Linked DNA regions of Homo sapiens: region 2 is linked to region 1. Evidence: promoter capture Hi-C in 16 types of primary human blood cells and fetal thymus (Javierre and others, 2016). All regions are on one chromosome and are shown on one strand. Each heading gives the region's core, a stretch centred on a gene start or on the middle of the fragment in contact. The rest is flanking DNA. Distances are from core to core; before and after follow the strand shown. Region 1 holds the start of FGA (fibrinogen alpha chain). Region 2 has its middle 37 kb from the start of MAP9-AS1.

Region 1 (2,500 bases), core at 1-2,500:
CTTTCCACAACCCTTGGGCCACGCACGCCTCCTCCTTCAGCTAGAAAGTCACCTTCACCACTATCTGCAGTCTTTAAAGATTCATTCACATACACAAAAGAGAGCAACAGCAATGTTAGCCAGAAGAGGAGACAGTGGCATGCCTACAAGTCCCCAGGAAGAGATGGCACTCTCACAGAGATTAAGGAGAGCAGACACAGGGCTTCGGCAAGCTTCAGGTTTCTTATCTTCAAATGGAAATCCTAGGACCCATTTTATGGAGTTGTTATGAGAATTAAAGGAGACAAGGTGTACAAATTTCTTAACTGTGTGTGACACTTAAATAAGCATTTGATAAATATTAGGAGTTTTAAAGAATCCATCCTAAAAGGAAAATTATTTGAATCTATAAAATCAGTTAAATTTTACCTTTTCATTTTTACTAATGACTGCAGACAGAAAGTTGAAAACTACTGTAGAGCTCTTTCTCCTGTAATTGCTGCTTCAGTAGAAAAACCTAGACTATCTTAACTGAATGTTCCTCTCTCCTTCAAGTTTCTATGTAACCTTTAGAGATGGATTCATAATTTAAAAGAATACCATTACTGCGGAAAAGCGTATTGCCTTACTAACTAATCTCTTCTGATACTGCAAAGATATTTCCAAAGATAATTCGTTTGCTTTTTCTTCTGTCTTGACAAACACAACAATAACCTTTCAGCAAAACTGTACTAACACTAAAAGTTCTGCTTATTATGGACAAGTAGCAAGAAATTAATAACTAAAGAAAACAAATCTTACCATAAAATGTTTTATTCCATTAACTAGCATTATAATGCACCAAGGCTTTATAGGTACAAGGATGGCAAATAATTCTTGCCCTTTTTAAAACAAAACAAAACAAAATGTGGTAAGACTGAATGACAGATGCTAAAGTTTCCCTTGTGAGTTTGTACACTCTCATCCATCTAAGATCTTCCTCTTGGTGTCATATTACCCTGTATTCTTGAGGTGTCAAGCCCACCCAGGAAATTTCCTCCCAGGCCTGGGGTCATAAAGCTAAGAGTGTGTCAGGACATAGAGCAGGTAGACTCTGACCTCCAGGCTCTTTGTGGAATAAACACCAGAGAGAAAGCAAGAAGAAAAAATGAAAAGGGCCATACCCATGCTGTGCCCACCACACTTAGGACCAGGCAGACGATCCTCATGGAAAACATCTTTTCTAAGGGTGGGGCTGGCTCCTGAGGAGCACTCCAGCTGAAAGAAAGGATTGCTGCCACTCCTAGTTCCCATCCTATTTAAATCTGCAAGAGGTTTGGTTAATCATTGGCTTTGTCCTGTGTAGACAGTCAACCCTCCCTCTACGTCCTTTGTTCCTCCTATGCTGTTGGTATCCCAGAAATTCTTGCTCAATTCCCCTCAGCTTGTTTGCTTCCGATAAGCTGTTGCAAAGGTAGCATTTGATTCTCCAGTCAACAATTAGGAGATCTCACATTCCAGGAACAGGGTGGCTTTGAGAATGAAAAGAGGAGCATAGGAGGGTATATCCATATTTCTAAACGTGAAAGAATATAGAAGGTGCTTAGGTAAGCTAGCTGTAGCCCCCAGTAGTAGTGATTTAGCAAACAATATTTCACTTTATGCAGAAATTAGGGTTGGGTGATCTGGCTTATAAAAAAAATAACTTTGGGGATAAGCTGGCCCTGAAGGCTTTCTATAAGTTTATTTAGAACATATTACTTTTCTCTATTTAAAATATTAAGATGACAGCAGCCCCAGGAACAAAACATCTTGGGTTCATAATCCAAGCTGCACCACTTCCCTGCTCTATGTTCTTGGACAAGTTACTTTACCTCTTTATACTTCAGTTTCCTCATTTATAAAATAAGGATGCTGATAAGCTACCCCATGCTTTTATGAAGAATAAATGAGTTAATTCTTGTAAATCTCTCAGAACAGTGACTGTCACATAGGAAATACTCAGTGAATTATGGGAGATCATAAAGTGCCATGAAAAATACCATTTATTTCCTGTTTCTGTGCTAGCAATCTCATTTCTGAGTGTATTTCCAAAGGAAATGAAATCAGGATCTTGAAGAGACACCTGCATTCCCATGTTCATTGTAGCTATATTGACAATAGCCGAGATATGAAAACAACCTGTTTCCACTGATGGATGAGTAGATAAAGAAAATGTGTATATATATATATACACAATGGAGTATTACTCAGCCTTGAAAAAGAAGGAAATTCTGTCATTTGCAGTAACATTGATGAACCTAGAGGGCATTATCCTAAGTGAAATGAGCAGATATAGACAGACAAATACTGCTTAGCTGGTCGTGGTGACAGGCACCTGTAATCCCAGCTACTCAGGAGGCTGAGGCAGGGAGAATCACTTGAACGCGGGAGGTGGAGGAGGTTGCAGTGAGCCGAGATTGCATCATTGCACTCCAGCCTGGGCCACAGAGTGAGACTCCTTCTCAAAAAAAAAAAAAAAAACGGAAAAGAAAGACAAATA
Region 2 (7,916 bases), core at 3,394-5,893, 730 kb after region 1:
TGCATGTTTGGATGCTTGTTCATGGCAACAGTAACTTCTCAGGTATTTTGCTTAATAAGCTTTTATGTCTGACATGCAGAGAAAAACATAGTCTATGTTTGCAGTAGCAATTATAGTAGAGACTGCTCTCCGTGGACCAAAACTTGTGCTTCTCCTTTCATGTTATAGAGCTGTCAGCTGGATGCAGCTGCCTAGCCAGGGACTACCTGTCCCAGATCCCTATTCCTTACCTTCAGGCGGGGCAATGTGACTAATTCTCACAAATAAAATTTGAGCAGAAGAAATGTTAGTTTCAGGCTGATATGGTTTGGTTCTGTGTCCCCACCCAACTCTCACCTTGAATTGTAACAATCCCCATGTATCATGGGAGGGACCAGTTGGAAGGTAATTGAATCATGGGGGAGGTTTTTCCCGTAAGTTGGTCTCCTGATGGTAAATAAGTCTCATGAGATCTGAAGGTTTTATAAGGGGCAGTTCCACTGCACATGCCTTCTTGCAGGGGCAAGGCAACCCTTTGCCCTTCCTTCATCTTCTGCCATGATTGTGAGGCCGCCCCAGCCATGTGAAACTGTGAGTCCTTTAAACCTCTTTCCTTTATTTATTTCCTTAAATTACCCAGTCTCACGTATGTCTTTATTAGCAATGTGAGAATAGACTAATACAGTAAATTGGTATCAGGTAGTTGGGCATTGCTGTGAAGATACCCGAAAATGTGGAAGTGATTTTAGAACAAAGTAACAGGCAGAAGTTGGAACATTTTGGAGGGCTCAGAAGAAGATAGGAAAATGTGGGAAAGTTTGAAATCTGCTAAAGAGTTGAAAGGCTCAGAAGACAGGAAGATGTGGGAAAGTTTGGAACTTCCTAGAGACTTGTTGAATGGCTTTGACCAAAATGCTGATAGTGATATGGACAATAAGATCAAGGCTGAGGTGGTCTCAGATGGAGACAAGGAAATTGTTGGGAACTGGAGGAGTAAAGATCACTCTTGCTATACTTAAAGACTGGTGGCATTTTGCCCCTGTCCTAGAAATATGTGGAACTTTGAACTTGAGAGAGATGATTTAGGGTATCTGGTGGAAGAAATTTCTGAGTGATAAACTGTTCAAGAGGAAGAAGAGCGTAAAAGTTTAGAAAATTTTCAGCCTGATGATGCAATAAAAAACAAAAGCCCATTTTCTGGGGAGAAATTCAAGCCTGATGTAGAAATTTGCGTAACTAACAAGGAGCCCAATGTTAACCACTAAGGCCATGGGGAAAATGTCTCTAGGGCATGTCAGAGACCTTTGCAGCAGTCCCTCTCATCATAGGCATGGAGACCTAGGAGGAAAAAATGGCTTCACGGGCTGGGCCCAGGCCCCTCCTGCTGTGTGCTACCTAGGGACTTGGTGGCATGTGTCCCAGCTGTTCCAGCTGTGGCTAAAAGGAGCCAAGGTACAGCTCAGGCTGTGGCTCCAGAGGGTGCAAGCCACAAGCCTTGGCAGCTTTCATGTGGTGTTGATCCTGCAGGTGCACAGAAGTCAAGAATTGAGGTTTGAGAACTTCCTCCTAGATTTCAGAGGATGTGTGGAAATGCCTGGATGTCCAGGCAGAAGTTTGCTGCAAGGGCAGGGCCCTCATGGAGAACCTCTGCTAGGGCAGTGCAGAGGGAAATGTGGAGTTGGAGGACCCACAGAATCCCTACAGGGGCACTGCCTAGTGGAGCTGTGAGAAGAGGACCACCATTTTCCAGACCCTAGAATGGTAGATCCACCAATATCTTGCACTGTGCACCTGGAAAATTTGCAGACACTCAATGCCAGTCCATGAAAGCAGCCAGGAGCGGGACAGTACCCTGCAAAGCCACAGGAGTGGAGCTGCCCAAGGACATGGGAGCCCACCTCTTGCATCAGTGTGACCTAGATATGAGACATGGAGTCAACTGAGATCATTTTGGAGCTTTAAGATTTGACTGCCTTGTTGGATCTTAGACTTGCATAGGACCTGTTGGCCCCTTTGTTTTGGCCAATTTCTCCCATTTTGAATGGCTGTATCTACCCAGTGCTTGTACTCCCATGGTATCTAGGAAGTAACTAACTTGCATTTGATTTTACAGGCTCATAGGCAGAAGGGACTTGCCTTGTCTCAGATGAGACTTTGGACTGTGGACTTTTGGGTTGATGCTGAATGAGTTAAAACTTTGGGGGACTGTTGGAAGGCATGATTGGTTTTTAAAAGGATGTGAGATTTGGGAGGGGCCGGGGCAGAATTATATGGTTTGGTTCTGTGTTCCCACCCAAATCTTACCTTGAATTGTAATAATCCCCACATGTCATGGGAGGGACCTGGTGGGAGATAATTGAATCCCATGCCATTTTTGTGATAGTGAATAAGTCTCACAGATCTGATGGTTTTATAAAGGGCAGTTCCCCTGCACATGCTCTCTTTACTGCTACCATGAAATACATCCCTTTTCTCTTTCTTAATCTTCCACCATGATTATGAGGCTTCCCCAGCCATGTGGAACTGTGAGTCCATTAAACCTCTTTCCTTTATAAATTACCTAGTCTTGGGTATGTCTTTATTAGCAGTGTGAGAACAAACTAATACACAGGCTAATCCTGTAAAGGAGAAGGTTGTCTTTCTCCACACATTTTTTCCATCTACTGAATGGAGAAGACTCTGAGATGCTAAGAAACAGTGGAAAGACAGGGTGGAAGGACCTAGGTTGCTGAAGCACCTCGTGGAATAAAGTCACTGCCAACAGAGCTGCCTCCATTGAGCACCTGCATGAATAAGATGTGCTGTTGTATTATGTTAGCAGCTCTGTGTCATTAGACACTTGCATGAACAAGGACAATTATTTCATCATGTTAATCTATTAAACTCTTGGAGTAAGATTATATTAACCTGAACCAAGACAAAACTGGGAGTACACATTTGGACCTTCACATCAGTAAACTGGTTCTTTAGGAAGGGGTCTTTCCTAGTGACTAACCTCATAGCTGCTTTCTGGTTTTTGTTTTGTTTTGTTTTTCAGTGATGCTAGAATGTAAGCTGCATGTGAGCAGGAATTTTTGTCTGTTTTGCCATTGATGTATCTGAAGCAACTAGAAGAAATACCTGGCATAAGGTAGCATTCAGCAATTAGTTGCTGAATAAGCAAATGAGCAAAAAGAAAATATTATCTTCTAACTAGTGATTGGACTGTCATCATGCATAAATTGAAAAAATGCAATGTAAAACTATGAAATAGATTTTTATATAACTGTGTTTCTCTATCTCCATAAATAGAATGTTACAAAGTTTTATGTTATTAATGGTAACAAAATAATTTCTGAAATTTTATGGCATAGTTTTCAGAGTTTTTTGAAAACTACTTGGCAGCTCTAAAAACTGCAAGAGTGTCACATAAATGATAATGCAAAGGGTTAATAAGGAAGAGGTAGCGTTGATCCCATAAGGCATGGAAGATTGTGTGGGCCTTCAGATCAAAAGGGAGATGTGTATATATGTGTAAGAATATCACTGTGTCATAAGAGATTAATTGTTTGGTTTAAGTTACATCTCAAAAAGTAATACACTGCATGAAGTGGATAAAGAACTGAAGATTTAACCCTGGGGAACAGTTGTGGCTGTAATTCCATGACTTTTACTTTCTTCTATAATAAAGTTTAAGGAGAGTCTGAAAATTTAGGATAAATGAGAAATAAGCTTAGTACAAGCAGTGGGTGGGGGGCTCTAAAAGGTAATTCTCTGGGCATCATCATCTTGGCTGAAATGGGCATCTGGCATCTACTTGGTCTGGATATTAACTTATGTAAATCTCTGGGAGCTTCATTTCCTTGGGTAAAGGAAATGAAATAAAAAACTAAAAATGAGTGAAACTACACAAATGAATGAAACCACGTGTAATTTACTATACTATAGGTTGAAGAGGAAAATATATACAAAATTCATGACTACCATACAGTATCTTTTTGGTATTAATGTCCGACTTTCCCTCTTCACTCCTTGCCCCTCTCTCCCCAAACACACATGTATAGAGAATCACTAGAAATGAGTGATAGATCCTGAGCTAAATTTGTCTACAGGACATTTCTGCCATGGTCAAGTTTGTATCTTATTAGGCTTTCACCATTTTGTTCACAAATTCCATTTTATGGAGTCTCAAAATATAACATTTCATATCCCTAGCACAGAATCAGTGGCAGAAATTTTCCATATTTCCATTCACAGCTCGTATGTTATATCTTCATACCTTTCTAGAACCCTTTTCACTGCTTGTCCTGCCTACATAGATTTATATAATTTGGTTCTTTAGGGGTTTCCCTCTTTTTCAATAGCCCTCTGCTATTATGGCCTCAGGGATAATTTACTTCTGTGTAAAGTCACCCATGTGCTCCTTTCTTTTTAAATGCCTAAATCTCTCTGGTCATAACTTGTATGTCTCTCTGCCACGCTTCCACAGTGGGAAGGACAGATTTCCATAATAAGGCTGAACTAAAACTGGCCTCCTAGTTGCATTCTTTCCTGATAAAAGTGTTCTTCTTTCTAATGCCATTAAATATTTCCCTTGGCTGCAACACTGTATTTTACTGTTTGAACATGCATTAAATATGCCTTCTTTCTTTCTTTCTTTTTTTTTTTGAGACGGAGTCTTGCTCTGTTGCCCAGGCTGGAGTGCAGTGACACAGTCTTGGCTCACTGCAAGCTCTGCCTCCTGGGTTCACGCCATTCTCCTGTCTCAGCCTCCCGAGTAGCTGGGACTACAGGTGCCCACCACCACGCCTGGCTAATTTTTGTATTTTTTAGTACAGACGAGGCTTCACCTTGTTAGCCAGGGTGGTCTCGATCTCCTGACCTCCTGATCCACCTGCCTTGTCCTCCCAAAGTGCTGGGATTACAGGCGTGAGCCACCGTGCCTGGCCCCTTCTGTCTTTATTATAGGAGATATTATTATTTCCGTGATAGTTCAGGAACCAAGTCTCAGAGGAATATAGGGGTGGGTTAGACTGGGTGTTGCTCACTCTTGTGATGAGTTCCAGACAGATGACCCTGTAAAAAGCATTACTGGACCACCCAGAAGGCACAGCCTAAGAAGGCCATCCTTCTGGGAATGTTGCCACACCTTTCAATGAGCTACAGAGCTAACCCATGGTAACAATTGGTATGGAGGCACACTGTCTTATTCTACCTGAGAAACAGGCATAATAAAACTGTAGAATTCCACTTAGCCTGTTGTATCACATACTATTTAGTTTTTTTCCTGAAGCCTACCTACCTTCTCCCTCTCAATTTTTGGATTTTTTTATCAGCTACTCTGTCCTTTTCATTTTTCCTGGACTTTCTCTATTCCTCATTTTTGTTTTTATGAAAGCATGGCCTTTTAAAATGCCCACATATAACACTCTTAAGTTCACCAGATAAAACAATAACAATAATTACAAAAGGTTTCACTTATTGCGAATGCTTTATGTATATTAATACACTGTATAATCTTTGTAGCAAATTCATGATATTAGATTGCTTTTCTTTTTCCCCATTTTACTGAGCTAAACTGAAAATTAGAGAATTAGCAAGTTGTTCAAAGCCACATAGCTAATAAAAGGCAGGATTCAAAGCTTGGTCCAATTGACTCGAGAAGACATGATTTATGGATCCAATAAATAACGAGTGAGTGCATTGGTGATAGAGACACAACAATGACAAAACAGGCTGATCACTCACCTCACAGAGCTTACATTCCTCTGGAGTGTCAAAGAAACATTACACCAGACATATTAAGCAGGGAAGGAAGACTTTATTCAAGACTATTGCAATAGAAGAGAGAGAGAGAGAAAGAGAGAGAGAAAATGAACTCAACTCCCGTAACACAGAACCCTGGAGTGTTTTTCTTATGGGGATGAACAAGTAGAAAAGTATTGGAGGAACTTAAGGTGTCTATGTGGTCAGATCATTTGTGTTGCTAATTTGGCACTTATGGAAGTTAAGCTTCTACCTTACCCCAGAGACTGGAAGATAGGGATGCAATTTTTCTTGATGATTGCACTGCAAAGGAATGAATCCCAGGTACTTAAGAAAGACATTCCTGGATTGTCAAACTGATAAAAGGCTGGGAGAAGATTTACATTTCAAAAGGGCAGAGAAAGAATTTACAACAGCAAATTTTCTACTGTAAATGCTTGAAGAAAAGGAAGATGGGACATCAACAGTCAAGAAGAAATCTGTCTAAAGTTTAGTCAAGCTAAAGAAATCATTAAGATCATCTTGGTCAGGAGAGAGACAAAAATATGTAGTGAATGTCCTATCAAGCAGGATACAGATGTTGCGGTGGGGGAGTTTCTATTTTATGTGGTTATGTGACTTTGTCCTAGTTTCTATCTAGAATAGAGGTTTTAAGCTCCCAGTTCCTGATTTATGGAGAAGCTAGTTGATATTAAGGGGAAATATTTCCTGAAGACAAAAACATTACTACTGACTTGGTCTTTACTAGAATACACACTGCCAGATTGGTTCTCCTGATTTATCCCCTGATCCCAGGGCTTTTCAGCCATTATATTCAATGCACATTATTTTCGGACCATTAGCATAAGCAAATAGGCTACTATTGACCACCCTGACCGTCTTCTCCCACCCCAAGTTTCTATACCATCTAACCCAAGACCTTGTTATAACCGTCTCTTAGATAACATGGCTATCTTCTCGTTCTCCTTAAAGAAAACATCCCAAGGCACTTCAGCTCCCTCCTACCCCTTCCAAATCTGGCATATTTGCCTAATAAGCCTAAATATACAGTGTTCATGTATTCCATTTTCTGGATAATAGCATTATTTATGCAATCTCTAAAAGACAGAAAAGACACTTCAGCACTTTAAAAAGTAATGTCCCCACTTGGGTAATCAAGCAGACTTTTTAGGAGCCCTCTCACTGGCTAAATCCGGAAGAGCAACTGCCTAATAGCAAATGTAATCTCCAGCAGGGCACCTCTATGCCATTATACTATTCTTATTATCCTTTTTTTGTCAAAAAAATTTTACAAAGCTACATTTCAAACATAAGAAGACTGAGGCTTAAAGATTTTTATTCAAGCCACGTAGCTATTAAGCAGGAGAACTGAGATGTAAACCCAGGTTATTTTAATTCCAAAGATGTGTTCTTTGAAATTTTTGTTTCCATTATTACATGCTACTACCAATCAAGTTTTATTTTTGGGGATAGGGGAATAAAACCTAAATATTATGACTTTTATTTGTTCATGGAAAACATAGGCATTTTTAATGATATCGCAATGAAACATAAGAAATATTATTCTGGTCTAATGTAGGGTTTCTCATGGGGTTCAATAATTATTACTGAGTTCTCTATTCAAATGTTCTTTTCATAATAGATCACTTGGGAAAAGGCTAAATGATATCAATTAGTCATTTTTATTTCAACATTAGGAGGAACTATTTTACCAGCTTATTCTTTTCCTTTGTGGCTTTATAGGCTCCATCCATCTTGTTCTCTTTAGAGATAAGAATATTGCAGAAAATGGAGAGTACCACAGGGCAAATTTCAATTACTCTGTGGAATATTAGCTATTTTACCTTGTTTGCTTAAGAGGTTTTTTTTCTGATTAAAGAATTATAATTTAAAAGGCAGAAGTAACTGTTCCTTTCATATTACTTCACAGTTCATCTCTCTTCTCTCTGGGGCTGACTTATGCCCACAAGGCTGATTCTAATTCCTTTTTTTTTTTTTTTTTTTAAGACAGAGTTTCTCTCTTGACACCTAGGCTGGAATGCAATGGCGCAATCTCAGCTGACTGCAACCTCCACCTCCGAGGTTCAAGCAATTCTCCTGCCTCAGCCTCCTGAGTAACTGGGATTACAGGCGCCCGCCACCACACCTGGCTAATTTTTGTATTTTTAGTGGAGATGGGGTTTCACCAAGTT

The links. Contacts are between HindIII fragments. The CHiCAGO score rates a contact against its expected background, and 5 or more counts as called.
Region 2: a contact is called between a fragment that was not itself captured here and the fragment with the promoter of FGA in region 1, in 3 of 17 cell types (total CD8 T cells, naive CD8 T cells and activated CD4 T cells). The highest score is 6.9, in total CD8 T cells.

Annotation. Positions count from the first base shown.
Region 1 is chr4:154,589,492-154,591,991 of GRCh38, forward strand. It overlaps FGA (fibrinogen alpha chain), which reads right to left and starts at 1,251. Exons shown (of 5, transcript NM_021871.4): 1 at 1,143-1,251; 2 at 1-71. The coding sequence starts at 1,196. The HindIII fragment of the contact is 3,315 bases long and covers 211-2,500 here.
Region 2 is chr4:155,313,720-155,321,635 of GRCh38, forward strand. No RefSeq gene overlaps it. Among named protein-coding and RNA genes, the nearest start is that of MAP9-AS1, 37 kb to the right of the region's middle. The HindIII fragment of the contact is 1,910 bases long and covers 3,689-5,598 here.